3 separate regions of the Homo sapiens genome follow, and all the other regions are linked to region 1. The links are contacts of gene promoters, found by promoter capture Hi-C in blood cells and fetal thymus (Javierre and others, 2016). All regions are on one chromosome and are shown on one strand. The core of a region is centred on a gene start or on the middle of the fragment in contact, and the rest is flanking DNA. Distances in the headings are between cores, read along the strand shown. Region 1 holds the start of SLCO4A1-AS1 (SLCO4A1 antisense RNA 1). Region 2 overlaps OSBPL2 (oxysterol binding protein like 2). Region 3 has its middle 6.1 kb from the start of BHLHE23.

What was found. Contacts are between HindIII fragments. The CHiCAGO score rates a contact against its expected background, and 5 or more counts as called.
Region 2: a fragment that was not itself captured here is called in contact with the fragment with the promoter of SLCO4A1-AS1 in region 1 in 1 of 17 cell types (M0 macrophages); the score reaches 5.5 in M0 macrophages.
Region 3: a contact is called between a fragment that was not itself captured here and the fragment with the promoter of SLCO4A1-AS1 in region 1, in 1 of 17 cell types (non-activated CD4 T cells). The highest score is 5.4, in non-activated CD4 T cells.

The regions. Positions count from the first base shown.
Region 1 is chr20:62,665,296-62,667,950 of GRCh38, reverse strand. It overlaps SLCO4A1-AS1 (SLCO4A1 antisense RNA 1), which reads left to right and starts at 1,330. Exons shown (of 4, transcript NR_024470.1): 1 at 1,330-1,566; 2 at 1,941-2,091; 3 at 2,454-2,655. SLCO4A1 (solute carrier organic anion transporter family member 4A1) reads right to left here. Exons shown (of 12, transcript NM_016354.4): 7 at 1,376-1,571; 8 at 41-206. The HindIII fragment of the contact is 12,915 bases long and covers 335-2,655 here.
Region 2 is chr20:62,293,442-62,296,096 of GRCh38, reverse strand. It overlaps OSBPL2 (oxysterol binding protein like 2), which reads right to left. Exons shown (of 14, transcript NM_144498.4): 14 at 1-2,312. The coding sequence ends at 2,210. Among named protein-coding and RNA genes, the nearest start is that of ADRM1, 8.2 kb to the left of the region's middle. The HindIII fragment of the contact is 1,399 bases long and covers 609-2,007 here.
Region 3 is chr20:63,011,723-63,014,377 of GRCh38, reverse strand. No RefSeq gene overlaps it. Among named protein-coding and RNA genes, the nearest start is that of BHLHE23, 6.1 kb to the right of the region's middle. RefSeq lists an enhancer at 1,291-1,440. The HindIII fragment of the contact is 240 bases long and covers 1,214-1,453 here.

The DNA.
Region 1 (2,655 bases), core at 81-2,580:
CCAGGGGAGGACAGGGGCGGTAGGCAGCGGCTCCACTCACCTTCTGGCCGTCCACATTCGTCTCCGTGGCTGCAGGGCACCCTGCGTGGCACAGTGAGAAGTACATGAGGCCGTCCGAGCCGCACACAGGGCTGTAGTGTTCTGGCTGGCAGCTGCAGGCAGCGTTGCAGGGAGCCGTTAGGTTCAGGTGGCCTTCGGGCAGGAGGCTGCAGAGGGGGGACAAGCGAGTGGTAGGGTCCAGGCCAGAGCCATGCTGGCGCCCAGCAGGCACAGGGTCAGCCATGGGGCTCGTCCCCATGCAGCCTGCATTTCGGGTCTACAAACTTGCCAAGCTTGCACCGCCCCCAGCACGCTGGGCACTCACACTGGGCACTGCCTTCTGGTGATAGAATGGTTTTTCCTCCTCACGCAAGGAAGGCACACCCATGCCCCCCAGCACCGTCCGCCTGATGCACAGCCCCTTTCCCTAGTTCATTTGTTTTTGGACAGGCAACACATTCATATGGATCAAATACAAACATTAGGAAAGAAAAAGCGCCAAGTACACAAAGGCAGCCTCGTGGCCCCAGCCCCACCCCAGTCCTCGGTTCTCCAGCCACAGGCCGGCTGTGCATTTGCAGGGGTCGTCTGCACGTACACGCCCCTCGGCAGTCACAAACATCTGCACTTCTCACTTGAATCAGAGCACACTGCGCCCATTGTCCAACTCCTTCCTTTTTCCCACTTCACAGTATGTCTTGGCAGTGGCCCAGGATGAGCTTCCTCCACTCCTTTGTGGGCAGGGCCTCTGTTGTGAGGACAGCGTAGTGACCCCGTCCACCCTGATGACTCTTAGGTTCCGATAATGCCACAACGGCTGCTTTGTGCTTCTCGGCCTTGCACGGCACCTGCAGGTGCACTCCCGGGGCCCGCAGGGCAGGGCCGAGGTGCAGGCTACCTACGTGTATTTTGGATATTCCCTAATTGCCACCTGACCAGCAGGTGTCCCTCCCACTCCCAGCACATGGCAACTCCAGGAGCACATCCTGGGACACTTTTTATGTCACCGAGAGACCAGCCTCAAGGACCCCGAACACTAGGGCTGTTGTTCCATTTGACACAGCTACAGAGCAGAGTGCTGAGGCCCAGAGAGGCATATGACTGCCCGGGGGCACAGCCGGGACCCAAGCGCAGGCACTGCTGGGGGCTGGCATGGTGCCTTTTCACGTGGATGCTGCCGGGTGCCCTGCTGAGCGGGTGTTGCCCTTGCCGCTGTCCTGTGACGTAGCCCTTTTCAAAACCACCTCTCCCAAGTGCTGCACCACTCCTCCTCCATGCCCAGGGACCGCGGGTGCTTGGGGCCCCGACGCGTACCCAGGTGCCATCTGGCCCTCACCTCCCGCCGTAGCTGGCTGTGACGCCCGCCATGGGCACACTGGGGCAGTGCAGTGAGAAGACGAGGATGCCCAGCAGGCTGACAACGGTGCAGAACAGGCAGAACTTGATGACCGCGGAGCCCCGGAGCCTGAGCTTGTTCACAAAGAAGCCGCCCAGGAAGGTGCCGCCACCACCCGCTGGCACCACCAGGTACCCTGGGGAGAGGGAGGGATTCAGCCAGGGACTCAGGCAGGGGGCCGTGGTGGGAGAGGGTGGTGGATCAGCCGGGTCCACTTTACAGGTGGGGAAACTGAGGCATAGAGGGATCAATTCCTGCCTGCATGGCAGCACTCAACACCACACCTGAGTGCTTAGCTGTTGCGCTGATAGAGCCCTAGGAGGGACCTCTGTCCAGAGCCCACAGCGGGGATGCCTCAGAGGGGAAGGGGAAGGGGAAGGGGAAGGGGAAGGGGGAGCGGGGGGGCGGGGCGGGGCGGGGGGAGGAGGAGAGCCCAGAGTGCTCCAAGGTCAGCGGCCCCTGCCCCAGTGGGAAGCCAATGACTCCTCCACTGACCCCCCTCCAGGGCAGCCACACCCCCTCCTCCCCCAGGGGCCTCTGCCGAGTCCCTGCAGGCTGTGACAAGGACATTTGTCGAAGCCTGAGTGGCCACCAACAGTAAAAAATTGCGATTAGCTGGCATCTAGCTTCTGGGCTGACAAGTGAGGAGGGCACAGGTGAGGGGACAGGTGGAGAGGGGACAGGTTTGGGGGGACAGGTGGGGAGGGGACAGATTTGGGGGGACAGGTGGGGAGGCTCTCCAAGGGGCAGTAGAGCTGACCTCTGGGGGGCTGTTGAGTGTGGGAATGTGGGCTTGTGAGGTCAGCCCAGAGGGGCCAGGCCAGGATGGGCCTGTGGGGGAGGGAGGGGAGCCCTCATCTGATGCCCTCTTCCTGTCCAGATAGTGGACCCTGGAAGGGTAGAGCGCGGTAGATTGGCGGTGGTGGCCCACATGCCTGGCACCTCTGCCATGGCCCAGGGTACTCTGTGAACGCTGGCAGGAGGAGCAGCTCTGAGGAGGGGTCCCCACTTTCTGCAGACCTGCCCAGCCTGGGAAGGCCAGCCTGCCTCTGGCACCGAGAAACCCCCAGCTGCACTGTTCCAGGAGGTCCTGAGGCACCAGTGCCTGGCTCATGGAACAGCCAGGTCCAAACCCTTCCTGCACCAAGTCACAGAAGCCAAGACTAGGTGGCTAGGGGGTGGAGCCCACCGTGGACCCTTCCACCTACGGAGCATGTCCC
Region 2 (2,655 bases), core at 59-2,558, 370 kb after region 1:
ATTTGCAGAAACAGTAACAAAAAGTAGTAAAAAGTTAAAATAACCTCGACACACAGCCGCTTTTGCCATCAGCCTTCCTACCGTTCTTCCTCCACCTCTGGTTTGGTGTCTGTCCTCAAGGACAGCAGAAGAGGGGCTGTCTGTGCAGCCAACCAGCCCCTGAAATACCAGGAGCCTGGTCCTAGAAGAGGACTTGGAAACAAACCCGTGGGCAAATTATCTTAACCAGTAACAAGTGGAATGATCAGTAAGAACTCGTTAAACCTCCCTAAATGCAGTCACTTTCAATGTGTCTGAGTCTCACCTCTGGATGTTCTCAGCTTGCAACCTTTCTTGGAGAAGGAGCCGGTTCACAACCACAGTCTGGAAAAGCAGATGACCCTCCACCAGAGGCACCTGGGCTCCACATTCCAGCCATCGGGGAATTTCAAAGTCTCCTCTTTGAATAACGCCACAATCCTGAATCCTCAGACCCAGCTACCAGTCACGGAGCGGTTCTGTTCAGACACTTTTGAGTGGCTGGTACGGAGCTCATAGGCCCCGAGGATGACACAGGACTCGGCACCAAACACCATCGCTTCCAGCTTCCAAAGCTACAAAATCAAGCTTTCAAAACGAGTGTTCACTTCCAGAAGTGCTTCCGTCACAGGTGTGATGTGGACGCCAAGACACACGCAGGTGGCACCTGTCACTCAGAAGTGCCGGCCTGAGTAACCTGGACTCCATGCAACCGCGTGTCAGCGTGTGCATGAGTGTGTGCGTGCGTGCACACAACCGACGGTCTTTCAAAGTGCTCCACTGTGATCTCTCGTGTTGACAATTCTACATGAAAAAAAATCAGTCACGGCCAGGCGCAGTGGCTCACGCCTGTAATCCCAGCACTTTGGGAGGTTGAGGCAGGCAGACTACTTGAGGTCGGGAGTTTGAGACCAGCCTGACCAACATGGTGAAAACCCGTGTCTACTAAAAATACAAAATCAGCCAGGTGTGGTGGCGCGTGCCTGTAATCCCAGCTACTTGGGAGGCTGAGGCAGGAGAATCGCTTGAACCCGGGAGGCGGAGGTTGCGGTGAGCCGAGATCATGCCATTGCACTCCAGCCTGGGCAACAAGAGTGAAACTCCGTCTCAAAAAAAAAAAAAAAAGGAAAGAAAAGAAAAAAAAATCAGTCACTTGATAAAGGTGAATGCTGAGATGGACACATACCTATTTTTGGTTAAATAACTTTAATTACACCACTGTAAGTAGATTCTGCCTCTGACCCTCCCACAGGACACAACCGGATGTGATTCTTGTCACTTCTATTTTAAACATGCATACTGGGAAAAACAGAAACACAAGAGTGCTATGGGTACACGCGACGTGTGAGAAGAAAGGAACCCCCTGGAGACACGGACGCGGTGTGCGGTGACAGCCAGGCCTCACTGACAACAGGGCAGCGAATCGCAGCCGGGACGCCTCTGAGGCGGAAGCAGTCTTGGGATTTCCTGTCACGCTCTCGATGCTTCTGCCCACTCTGGTTTGTCACGGGGATGCTTCATTTTGGACAGTATAAAACCGGTGATTAATGCATATCTTGCTCTTCAGCAAAATACTATTCAAGTAGTTTTAACTTAAATATTTTAAAAGTAATCTTTACATTATTGAAGATTGTTAAAAAATACAGAATCTGACAACTTTTCACTCAATCTGATGCTCTGAAACTCTTCACTTCTGTTTTATCATAATTTAGAAGGCAATCCCTGGCCTCTATAAAACTCTCTGCAGGATTAGCTTCAAGATCCATCTTTCCCCCACTGGTTCGAGTTTAAAAGGCTTTCAGAACCTTTTGCCACTGCATTATAAAGAGAACATGAACCCCTTCCCATTACTTCCTTTAGCTACACATGCTATGACTGAGAGTGTGCTGGAAGCTAAACAAGCCCCAGCTGATTTCTGCCACATAAAAGGGCGCCGTGAAGAATTTCCCTGTTGAAACCTTAATGAAGACGATGATCCCAAGTGAAGCTTTATGAAGAGACGGCACAGCAGAGTGAAATGTTTGGCAATCAACAGTTAATTAGAATTACATCCTTGATCAGGGATGATGCTATCTCCGCGAACTCAGTCGTTAGAAAAGTTGGTTTCTGCTGTGACGAGGCTCACAGTGGCCACTCGAGGAAGTCCAGCCTCGTCAGCCTCCGGTCCCGGGCCCCAGGCCCCTCCAGGCCCTCAGTAGATATCTGGGCAGTCGGAGAAATTCCGCTCAAAGTAATCCCCTGCATACAACCAGTCGGGGGTCCCAGTGTAGGGGTTATTGCCTGGGTAGAACCACCTGCCGGATACAAGGGAGGGGGGTCAGAAGATGCTCAGCCCAAAAGGAAAACGCAGCCCTGTTCTGGGTGCAGGAGTGTGTTCCCCCAACTCAGCACCATCACGGTAACGTGGGTTTTAAAATGCAGCCCAGCGTAACAACTTCAACGGAGAATTATTGATCACGTGGTCATGTGAATGCTGGAACCTAAAGATATCCAGCCACCCGTGTCAATTTCACTTCCCAACAAAATCTTGAGGGTTTAACTCAACACAAAATCCTCACACTGGGCCCTTATCAGAGAAGTTACTGGAGCCTAAATAATGCCTCTCCCTTTTCAAGGCAAAAGCAGTTACACTGTTCA
Region 3 (2,655 bases), core at 84-2,583, 350 kb before region 1:
CTATTGCATGAACTCTAAACTGGTCACCGCAGAATCAATGTTGTTCAAGACTGAAAACAACCATCAGACTTCCAGTTTCTGGTTATTAGGGACTAGTTAATCTGGACCCATCACTTTTCTGATGGTGACTACAAAAGCTGAGCAAAATGTTAAAAATATTTGCTTGGAATGCAAACAAACAAAATCCCAGAAAGACAAAGATCCAGAGTGAAAAAAGCCTTCGGGACGCTCACTTTTCCCCCAAAGCATTTGCTGCTTCAGATAGCTCACAGCCCACTGAGGAGCCAGACAGCGAGAGATTCAGCCCACCTGAGAGTGGGGAGTTGGCGAACATCCCCCCGACCCCCACCATTTTGAGTTGGGACAACAAATAACCGCACCCTAGACATAGGGGTGGATAGAAGGAGACCGGCTCTTGCAGCAACTCAGGGCCTTTTGCACCACTGCCAGGGTAGGAAAACCTAAACTGTAATCATCTTGAAATGATTTCAATCCCTGAAACTAGAGTAAGATGATCCAGGACCCCTAGTGCCCCCATGTCTCGCAGATGCAAACATAAACCCTCTCTGGAGGAAAATAAAATAGACCTCAAATGATTTCTACAAAATAATTTTACAAATACAATGTTCAGTCCACAATAAAAATTCTAGACAATTGAAAAAACAAATCAGCAAGAATGAAAGCAGCAGAGACCATAGGCAGAAGATCTACCAGTCCAGACACTGGAGTCGCGAGACAGAGACTGGAACAAAACTGTGCTTACAGCATTTGCAGAAATAGAGGTGGAATTTAGAATTTCAGCAAAAAAAAAAAAAAAAACCTAGAAAAACCAAATGAAAATTCTAGCACTGAAAAATAAAATCACTTAAATTATAAACTTAGTGGCTTTAATAGCAAATTCAGCTGAAGAGAGAATTAGTGAAGTGGAAAATAGGTCAGTAGAAAATATTCAGAATGAAGTATGGATAATACAAATGGAAAATACAGGTGACAGGTTAAGATACACAAAGGATTCAGGAAGAAGGACCAATATATTTGTAACTGGATCCCAGAGAGGAGATGAGAGAACATGAGGTTGAAGCAATACTCCAGAGTTAATAGCCAGGAAATTTCTAAAAGTAATCAAAATCATCAAGTCACAAATTCAAGAACCCCACAAACCCAAAAAGGATAAATGAAATGAATCAATTTCTAGTCCACTGTGTGAGAAGCTTGGAAACAATCAATCTTTTCACAAGAACAAAACGTGAGCAAACTGAAAGTCAATAATATTTCTTATATTCAACAGATGATGAGGTCACAGGGCAAACCACTGCCCAAAAAAGTTGTAGAGACGACAGACAGATGCAGAGAATCCCAATTCTGCAGAGCAGACACCTCCCTGGGAACCACTGCCAGGTTGGGAAAACCTAAACTGTCACTGGCAGATTGCTGGAGGCTGTGTGGCCAAGCTTGACAGTTAAAAACTCCAGGGCCCAGTCTTAGGGTGGAGGCCACACTTCTGTGAGTTTTACCTGCACAAACTCTACCAGATCCCCCAGGTAAATACCAGAGAAAAATCCCCTTGTGCTTTGGACAAGGGGAGGGGAGAAGTAGCACTTTCGAAATATGCCAGAGCATTCTGTTCTTCCTCTGCCCTCAAGAGAAACTATTTTTAACGTACCAGAGTTTAATCAGAGTCTAACCAACCTGGAGGAAGGGAAGTATCAACTCCAGCTCCCTCCAGTCTTTTATGTTGGGAAGGGAAACACACAGCCCCATTCTCTATCCCTCTTGTCTCATTTAAGAAGGAAAAACAGGATGGGCATGGTGGTTCACACCTGTAATCCCAGCACTTTGGAAGGCTGAGGCGGGTGGATCATCTGAGGTCAGGAGTTCAAGACCAGCCTGACCAACATGGAGAAACCCCGTCTCTACTAAAAATACAAAATTAGCTAGGCATGGTGGTGTGCGCCTGTAATCCCAGCTACTCAAGAGGCTGAGGCAGGAGAATCACTTGAACCCAGAAGGTGGAGGTTGCAGTGAGCCAAGATCATGCCACTGCACTCCAGCCTGGGCTACAGAGAAAGACTCCGTCTCAAAAAAAAACAAAAAAAAAACAAAAAAATGTCCAACTGAAGAAAGTGTTGAGTGAGCTTGTCATGCATTCCTACACAAAGAGTACAACCGCAATATATTCTACAATAGCAAAGCAAAATAAATAAAATCATTCCAAGTAAACTAGCTAAACAGAAAGGCTTTCCAAGAACTGGGCAGCTGTTGGAACCAAGCCAATAGAGGACTGACTGACAGCTCATCAATGGCAGAGACGTGAGCTCTAAAGCTCTCATAGCCTGGGTAATGGTCTGGAACGTAAAATCCCCACAGACTTAGGCTGGCCAGTTGACTATGCCAGGGCAACCCAGAGGTGGAGGAAAGTGGCAATTCTCCACATACCCAACCGTTTATGTGATTATGTAGACAGGCTAAAGTCTGTGCCTACTCAGTAAATAAATCACTCTCTGCATGATTCCAACTTGTGCCTAAAAGTAGAATGCCAATCCAGGTATTTATGCCCCCCATCCCTCTCATTTCTTAGGAACAGGAATCAGAGGTCACTGACTGGCTCACGGGAATAAACGGGATCAGTCTCTTGTGTTCCGTTGGCCTGTGGGG